3 separate regions of the Homo sapiens genome follow, and all the other regions are linked to region 2. Evidence: promoter capture Hi-C in 16 types of primary human blood cells and fetal thymus (Javierre and others, 2016). All regions are on one chromosome and are shown on one strand. Each heading gives the region's core, a stretch centred on a gene start or on the middle of the fragment in contact. The rest is flanking DNA. Distances are from core to core; before and after follow the strand shown.

Region 1 (2,987 bases), core at 1-2,500, 63 kb after region 2:
CCAGGAGTTTTAAAAGATTTAATTATTATTATTGTAAATTATTTTTAATTGATACCAGTTTCTAATGCCCTTTACTTGTTAAGAATAATACCTGTTTTAACTTCTTGCCTTTGTTAAAAAAAAAAAAAAAACCTGTAATACTGACAGGGCTTTTTTTTTTTTTTTTTTTTTTTTTGCTTTTTCTTTGTTTTATGGTGATTTTTACTTTTTCAAGTAGCTTGTTAAAGGAGAAATCAGAAATGCACATGATTGTTTTATACAGAGGTATAAAGCTATAAAAGAATGTGTTGACTGATTCAGCTAACTTAGAAAATAAACCAGGCATAAGTTTTTAGATGATTTAATTACATGGTGTTTAGAGCTACTTACCTATGGATTGATTCAATTGCTTTCACGTATCATAAGCTTAGGTAGATAGCTTTTAGCTAACATTCATTTGATAAGCATAGTGTTTTAAAAATTTTCTGACTTATGTAAGTATTCTTTCATTTTACTTTTAAAGGAGAAGAAATATTCTAATTTTATATTTATTAAGAATATTTTCTCTACTGAAATTGTAACTTTTAAAAAATTGAGGTAAATGGAATAATGGTCTATAATTTTTTTAGTTTCTAAAGATTATTTTCTTTGGAAAAATCTCAAGATTTTTGGATGGGCAAGAAATTTAAAGTAATTTCTTTAATTGTTTTAAAATTAGACCATAGCACAGTGGCGGAAGTCAGGATACCAGGATATGCCTGAGTATGAAAATTTCCGCCACCTTCTGCAAGCCCCAGTGGATGATGCACAGGAAATTCTTCACTCCAGATTTCCAATGCCAAGATACATTGACACTGAACATGGAGGCAGCCAGGTAAGTAGTGTTAATTTGTTTGTGTGTTTGTTTGTTGTTAGGTTTGCAGTGAGGTGTACCTGCTTGCCTTCTGATTTTAATAGATTGCTTCATAAAGCAGACAGAAAGGTAAGGAGATAGGTGGGGAAGGTATCAGTGCTTACTTTTTGCATTAGCTTTTGAGAGCAAAACAGTAAGATTATTGACTAGTTGCCTAAACCTGGCACTTTCCATCATCTTCTGTCTCTAGCCTAGCTTCCTGAACAGGGCCAGGATGGCATTGTGGTGGTATACTAGCTTTGGTTGAACAAGAAAATGTGAACAGCTTGGAAAGTAATATACTTTTCTTAAAGCCGTTTATTTACTGTTAAAGTCTATGAATATGACATTTGTGGTAACTTACATTTTTTCATTGTCTTCATTCTATCATTCCAATTTTCTAGAAAATAAAATTTTATGTAATAGGAAAACACTGTAGTATTATGAAAAGGTTTTGTGGCTTTTAGGATTTTGAGGATACATATACGTTAGATACATATACATACATACACAGTTGCTTTGAGACCTTCAGAAGGCTAAGTTAGGTTCCTTAACATACTCTCATAAAATACTTCTTACTTCTCTTTTGTAATTCTTATAAGAGTTATAATAAATTAATTATAAGTTGTTATTAATTTGTTTTACATGCTCTTTGAAGGCAGGGACTATGCTTTGTATTCCCTAGTGCCTAGTACGGTATTATAAAATAGGTAGCAAATATCAGTAACTGTTATTCAGAAATGATAATTACTATTAGTTTTACTGTATTTATATGAGAGTTATTTCATATTGAGAATTTGCAAAGTACTTCTGCATGCCTTATCTCATTTGATCCTCATAAGAATTCTAGTGTTATTTTCATTTAACAGATAATAAAACTGAGATCTAGGTTACTTATGGCCAAGGGAACACAGTAAATACAGGAGTGGGATTTGAGTCCTGGTACTCCAGGGCCAGTGCTCTTCACTGTTAGGTTAAACTGATTCCTTAGAGAGTAGAAAAAGATTTTGTATGATACTAAATTTCAAAAGATGTTACTGTCTATGTGCTTCCATTATGAGTTAAAAATCTTACTGGTTCTTTCATTGATGTCTCACTGTGTGTATTACCATTTTCCTCTTTTATTCTGGTTATTATTTTCATGATGATAAGCCATAGTGGGTAGAAGGATAAAATGTTGGATCACTTGTCTCATAGAATCACCTGTGGTTTAAGAAAGCTTAAGGGTCATTATTTTAAGCAAAAGAACATACAGATTTTCATGGCTTTTGTTTTTATCATTATTTGGGATTTTGAACTTCTGACCAAGTGTTTAGTAATTTCACACCAACCTTGTCATAATTGTTGCACACATAATTTTTATATGCTGAGTTTTGGACTCAACAATGTATTTGTTATTTTGGATGTATGATTTGGAGAGAAGAGGTGCATTTATTATTTATTTGTAACACTTAGTGACCTATACATTTCAAAGTTTAATCTTTTAAAAATTAAGTTAATAAAATTAATTTTACCAACACATACTAAATAAAATTGATTTTGCATGATATAATTATTCAGCTGATATTGACTGAAACCATTTTTGATGGATAATGTTATTTCTTCTTTGCTTTTAAGGCCCGTTTCCTCCTTTCAAAAGTCAACCCTTCACAGACTCATAATAATATGTATGCCTGGGGGCAGGTAAGTTTAAATAGCAGGTCTTGGAAATTATTTCTTTGTGTATTTATTGTTTATTATTTTAGTGAAAGCTACATTTTTTTCCTGTGTATTTAGTAATGGTTTCTGTTGGAAAAGTAATGTAAAAATGAGAGTAGAAAACAGAATTAATATTTGGCGACACCATAGGACAAAAGTGATCCTATCAAATAGACTCCAAGTTTAGCACTATACCCTTGAGACAAAAAGCAATGAAGTGTGTAAGACAGGAAGTGGTGACTCCAGTTTAATGCTAGGTTGTGAACCACAAAAGGCCACGATAAGCCAAGAGAGGCCAGGGATCATAGTTGAGAAGGAGGGGCAGGAACCCTGCAAATCATTATTGATATAGTTTAATTTGGTAAAAGTCCTGCTGGGTGTGGTGGCTCATGCCTGTAATCCCAGCTGCTCAAGAGGC
Region 2 (3,105 bases), core at 460-2,959:
TAGCCAGCCCCTTCTGCCATGTGAGAACAAAGAAGGCACCATCTATGAATCAGAAAGCAGGTCCTCACCGGACACCAAATCTGCTGGCATCTTGATCCTGGACTTCTCAGCCTCCAGGACAGTCAGAAATAAATTTCTGTTGTTTATGAGCTACCCAGTTGAGGGCATTTGTGTTAGCAGCCTAAATGGACTAAGATCTTTTTATCCTACTCATTCTTAGATCTTGTCGCTTTTGGTGGGTGTACTTATTCCACCTTTATAACAACACCTCTGCTGTGTGCTGTTAAGAATCTTCATTAAGGTAGCACCTTGAACCTACTTTATTTGGAAGCCTACACTAATTTTTGGCTTTCGATTCCCATTGCCCTCTTCAGGATTGTATTACAATTTGACAAGCAAACATCCTCTTCCACCTTCCAAAACAACTTTAGTACACACATTATAGAAAGGGAAATATGTTTGGTGCTTTTTTTTTTGAGACAGTCTCACTCTGTCACCCAGGCTGGAGTGCAATGGCGTGGTCTCGGCTCACTGCAACCTCCGCCTCCCGGGTTCAAGCAATTCTTCTGCCTCATCCTCCCGAGTAGCTGGGACTACAGGAGCGTGCCACCACACCCGGCTAATTTTTGTATTTTTAGTAGAGACGGTGTTTCACTATGTTGGCCAGGCTGGTCTCGAACTCCTTACCTTGTGATCCGCCTGCCTCCGCCTCCCAAAGTGTTGGGATTACAGGCGTGAGCCACCGCGCCCAGCCTGGTGCTGCTGTCTTATTTCTCATGAATATGAGCTTTCAAGGACAGGGACTTGATCTTTTTTTCCATTCCATAAAATGTTGATATGGCTAAACTTTGCAGGCTTTTAGGCGTTGTCATATATGCAATTAATTCCATGGGCACTTAATTTCATTCCCCTCACTGAAGGAAGGGGTTGTCTGAGACCACCAAGCTCTAATGTCTTACCAATCTGTTGCTTTCTCATTTTGTTCAACTTTTTTCTTGGAAAGAAAAACATTGAACATATCAAGATGAATCAGCCAAATATTGTACTGTGTGTGTGTTTTGGGGGTGGGGGGAGACAGAGTTGAAGTGGCAGAGGCAATGTAGGAGGAAAAGACAGGCTGACTAAAATACATAAATAGTACGTGAATTCTTTCGGGCCAGGGATCTGGGCCTACTTTGCCTGCATCATATTACCAGCATCTCAATTGTGTCTGGCACATAGTAAGTTTCAGTAAACATTTGTTGCACTAAGTGAAAGAATGAACTTTTCACTTTTTTCAGAGATGTGATTTGTGATTCTCGGAATCAACCAGGGTCCTAAGATGTCCTGGAGGCCGTCTCCATTTCTCTCGGTGAGCTAAGGTGTCCGAGTGGCACCAGTTCTCCACTCTTTCTGCGACCTGCAGGGAGTGGGATACGCTGTGGCTTTAGGGAGCTGGGAAAGGCGCTCTCTCCCGGTCCCGCTCTGCCCGGTCCCACGCCCCTCGGCCGTCCGGCTGCCTGGGTCTTCCGGGTTCTTCCGCCCCTCTGGCTCGGTCCCCGCTACCTCTCCTCCCTCCTCCCCTCTCGGTACCTTCGCCCGCCGCGCGCCTTTCTCAAATCCTCCGGTTATTAAGCAAGCTCAGGGGTCCGGTGGCCTGCCCTGGTAACTCTGCGCCCGCCCCTTCCTGCCCCCTTCCTGCCCTCACGCCCCGTCCCCTCCTCTTGACGTGGCAGAGGCGGCGCCAGCCATGTTGGCCGGGCGGAGGTCTTCGCTGAGGCCCGGGGCGGGGTGGCGCCACCCCTGATTGCGGTGCCACGGACTGCTCCTGCTGGGCGGAGAGGACAGATTTTGCAAAGCGGAGGCTGCGACGGGTCCTGCAGGGGGACAGTGAGGAAAGGGCCGCCTCGTCTCCGCTCCTGGGGGACCGCAGGTGCGCAGCGGGGAGCGGGGGCGGGCTGGCGGCGGCGGGCTGGGGGCTGGGATCCTGGGGTGGTCCCGGCTCTGCCCTCTCGGTGCCCCGGGGCCAGCGAGGTGTGCTGGAGGCTGAGGCCCGGTCCGGCGCGGGGAGCGTTGAGTGCTGAGCTTGCCACCCTCTCACCCACTTCGCTCTGCCGGGGCCGGGGGCCCGGCCTCCTCCAGCTCCCCTGGATTAGGTGGAAAGATGTGGAAAACGGTGGTTCGAGCATCTCGCCCAGCACCCACCCCCACCTCCTGGGCCACCCACCTCCACCCAAGTCCATCATCGCCTCTGGGCCCTTGGACTTACTGTTTCATTCCTTGCCAGATATGGAGTGTCCTAGACTTTGAACCCAATTGACTACGTCACCGTAATTCAGCCTTGGAAGTTAAAGGGGTTAAAGGGGAAAAGAGCTTGGTAAAGATAATGCCTTGGGTTTTGATTACAAAGAGTTCAGTTTTCCAGCAGGACCAGCCCTATCTCACTGGGCTTTCTTTCTACGGTAGGTAGTGTTTCCCGATTTGGTGGTAAAGGTACTGCCTGAGGAAGGTCATAGTAAATCTACATCAATCACTGAAGTGGGGATGTGGAATTCTCGTTTTCACTTGAACTCCCTCAACCTCTACCGTCCAAAGCCATGGATAACTAGCCAAATTAACTTGGTTTAAAAAGGTTTTAGATTTAAATATAAATGCATGTTGAGTTTTCCTTCTCTTTCTCCTCTGGTAGTGAATGAACATCATTTCAGAAGTCCAGCTATTTTTTTTTTTTCTGAGACGGAGTCTTGCTTTGTCGCCCAGGCTGGAGTGCAGTGGCGCAATCTCGGCTCACTGCAACCTCCGCCTCCCTGGTTCAAGCGATTCTCCTGCTTCAGCCTCCCGAGTAGCTGGGATTACAGGGGCGAGCTACTATGCCCGGCTAATTTTTGTATCTTTAGTAGAGACGGGGTTTCACCATGTTGGCCAGGCTGGTCTCGAACTCCTGACCTCAGGTGATCCGCCCGCCTCGGCCTCCCAAAGTGCTGGGATCACAGGCATGAGCCACTGCGCCCGGCCAGAGTCCAGCTATTTTTAATTGACTTACAGAATTTTAGAGTTAGATGGGACCTTGTGATTTTCTAGTCCAAGTCTCTTATTTTGCTGATGAGAAAAACAGGATTCAGAGAG
Region 3 (3,124 bases), core at 600-3,099, 34 kb before region 2:
GAGCCACTGCACCCAGCCACCTTCTTCTTAATATTATCTAGTTCTCAGTAATTTTATTCTCTATGAGTAGAATGCCTAAGTGTATGCCCAGCCACGTTATGAGAGAAATATAAAACAATTGACACTTTACTTCTATTAAAGCAATCCCCAACCCACTTCCCAAACCCCCACCCCAAGCATCATATCAGCAAAAAATGTGAGGCTATAACACAGCTAGCTGTGGTACAGGTTGGTAATCTAAACCCTTTATAGTAGACTGCTGGCTGCCTACCCAATATCCACTCTCCCCTTTCAAAATAGAACTCCACTTTTGTTAGGAGTAGCAATGTGTCCAGGTACATCTTCCAGCATTCTTTACAATTAGGGCTGGTCATATGTCATAATTCTGGCCAATGAGATATCGAGTTGAAGGTTTCTTAAAATGCTCTGCTCCCAGATATAAATGACAAGAAGGGGTGGTGCCATTTCCCTCCCTGGAGTGTAGATGTGAGGCAAGAGATAAACCATACTTCATAAACAAAAAGATGAAAACTGCATACTCAAATGATGAAAGAGAAATCTGGATGGAGCCCAGAATATTTAAGACATTGTAAAGCTGCTGCACCATCCTGAACTTCTCACACCAGAATTATATGAGAAACAAAAACAATTTTAGAAACCTCAGTTTAGCCAAGTTTTCAAATGCAGTATTAAATGATAGACTCTTATGGCTTGCCTACTTTTGGGAAAAGGAAACTTTTGATCAAAGGAAAAAAGTTTGAAAAGAAACATTGCATACATGAAGATATCTGTGTAGTATTTTTTTATATTAGGTTAGCACTGAAAACAAAACTAGATATCCAACAATGAGGAAATTTTTAAGTACTTAGGACTGCAGTTTTATAGTGAGCTTTATGTGCCAGGCACAGTGGCTCATGCTTGTAATCCCAACACTTTGGGAGGCAAAGGTGGGCGGATCATTTGAAGTCAGGAGTTTGAAACCAGCCTGACCAACATGGTGAAACCCGGTCTCTACTAAAAACACAAAAAAATTAGCTGGGTGCGGTGGTGCATGTCTGTAGTCCCAGCTGCTCAGGAGGCTGAGGTGGGAGAATCACTTGAACCTGGGAGGTGGAGGTTGCGTGAGCCGAGATTGCGTCACTGCACTCCAGCCTGGGCAACCAAGCGAGACTCGTCTCAAAAACAAACAAAAATAATAATAAAGTGAGCTTTATGAAGACATTACAGAAAAGATTCAAATATAAAATGACCTCTGCTCTAATTATAACTGGTGGCAAAACTGTTGGTTGTCTGATCCATGGTAATTCCCAATCCCCATTTTCCTTTCCCACCTTCCATTAGTGAGACTGGAAAGGCGTACAGCTTCATTTTCCCACTTTCCTGGGAACAAGGGGTGATCATGTTGTACATTTATGGCTAGCAGATGAACACAAGTCTGATCTAAATTTCTAGAAAAGATTTTACATTTATGAGAAAAGGATCAGATGTGGAAGGCCCTGCTTCCCCTTCTTTTTGTCTTGAATACAGACACATTGGCTTGAACTGCAATGGCCATCTTGTTTCCATGACAGAAAGGCTAAAGGAATCTGAGCCCCTGATATCACTGAGTCACTAAACCAATGCCAGTGGCCAGCTCCTTTAGACTTCTTGTTATCTGAGAAAAACCCCTATTTGAAGAACCATTGCCACTTGGATCTTTTGTGTTACTTAAAGCAGAAAACATTCCTACCTGATACAGAAATAGGTAAGTTATAAGTGACATAAACAAATTAAAACAGTTGACCTGTTATTTTTGAAAGTGATTTGTTAGATAAAGTTCTATTTGTGCAATAAAGCATTTAAAAATAAAAATATTGAGGCCAGGCACAGTGGCTCATGCCTGTAATCCCAGCACTTTGGGAGGCTGAGGCGGGCGGATCACCTGAGATCAGGAGTTCAAGAGCAGCCTGGCCAGCATGGTGAAACCCTGTTTCTACTAAAAATACAAAAATTAGCCAGGCTTGGTGGCGGACACCTGTAGATCCAGCTACTCGGGAGCCTGGGGCAGGAGAATCACTTGAACCTGGGAGGCAGAGGTTGCAGTGAGCTGAGATCCTGCCACTGCACTCCAGCCTGGATGACAGAGCGAGACTCCATCTCAAAGAAAAAAAAAAAAAAAAAAAAAAAGTGCTGAGCTTAAAGGGAAAAATGTTTAATTTTATTGCTGACTATGAACACATTGCCATTTAATCCAGATTATTTTAATTCTGATGCTAAGGCCATCCATTGTCTTTTGTTAGGAGTCAAACAAAATTTTAGTAACCAAAACATATTTTCAATAAAATTTTATATGTATATAAGTAAATAACAAAACAACAAAAAACAAAAAAAGAACAAAACAGCACCAAGAACCTATGTAAAATTTCATCATACAATTTCTATGCAAGCTGCTTGATTACAGAAAACTGTTCAAACTGTTCATCAAAAACTGAGTGGGATTTTCCATTGATATTTCAGATATTCAAATCAACCCATATTCTGAGTATCAATCTGAATTGCACAGGTTAAGATGTGAACCCTTCACATAGTGTTGAAGATGTGTTGAAATCTGTACTTGAATTGGCATTGTTTTCCTCAGAGTTAGGCTGCCTTCATGAGAAATATCTTCTATCCCTGAGAGATCAGCTACATCAAGATGGCTCATCAGCTAAATCACGTTGGTCAAAATACCTAGTAAAAAAAAAACAAAAAATTTATGTATAAAGATATTAACTGTAGCACTATTTTTAATAGCCAAAGACCATAAGCAACCCAAACGTCCATCAATAAGAAACTGGTTAAATAAGCTATAGTATGTCTACATAGTGGAAAATTATGAAGCCATAAAAAGAGAAATGAGGGAAATATTTATACTGCTAAAGTATGAGGAACGTATTTATACTGCTAAAGTATGATTTCCAGGATTTATTAAGTGAAAAAAAACGAAGTACAGAACAGATTGTTCTGTATGCTACCTTATGTGAGTATGTGTAGGACTGCCAATATACGTGTTTGTTTATATTTTTCTTTTCCTTTTTGAGACAAGGTCTCACTCTGTCACCCAGGCTGGAGTGCAGTGGCATGATCATGGCTCATTTCCCAGACT

Evidence for each region. Contacts are between HindIII fragments. The CHiCAGO score rates a contact against its expected background, and 5 or more counts as called.
Region 1: a fragment that was not itself captured here is called in contact with the fragment with the promoter of SEC23A in region 2 in 1 of 17 cell types (monocytes); the score reaches 5.4 in monocytes.
Region 3: a fragment that was not itself captured here is called in contact with the fragment with the promoter of SEC23A in region 2 in 10 of 17 cell types (total B cells, monocytes, erythroblasts and 7 more); the score reaches 9.0 in total B cells.

What each region holds. Positions count from the first base shown.
Region 1 is chr14:39,038,598-39,041,584 of GRCh38, reverse strand. It overlaps SEC23A (SEC23 homolog A, COPII component), which reads left to right. Exons shown (of 20, transcript NM_006364.4): 18 at 698-853; 19 at 2,489-2,554. Among named protein-coding and RNA genes, the nearest start is that of SEC23A-AS1, 63 kb to the left of the region's middle. The HindIII fragment of the contact is 1,685 bases long and covers 408-2,092 here.
Region 2 is chr14:39,101,839-39,104,943 of GRCh38, reverse strand. SEC23A (SEC23 homolog A, COPII component) reads left to right here and starts at 1,709. Exons shown (of 20, transcript NM_006364.4): 1 at 1,709-1,912. It overlaps SEC23A-AS1 (SEC23A antisense RNA 1), which reads right to left and starts at 1,804. Exons shown (of 2, transcript NR_146545.1): 1 at 1,573-1,804; 2 at 1,132-1,399. RefSeq lists silencers at 1,494-1,723, 1,884-2,003, 2,024-2,103. The HindIII fragment of the contact is 19,881 bases long and covers 1-3,105 here.
Region 3 is chr14:39,136,025-39,139,148 of GRCh38, reverse strand. GEMIN2 (gem nuclear organelle associated protein 2) reads right to left here. Exons shown (of 10, transcript NM_003616.3): 10 at 2,176-2,709. The coding sequence ends at 2,670. Among named protein-coding and RNA genes, the nearest start is that of GEMIN2, 23 kb to the right of the region's middle. The HindIII fragment of the contact is 5,553 bases long and covers 1-3,124 here.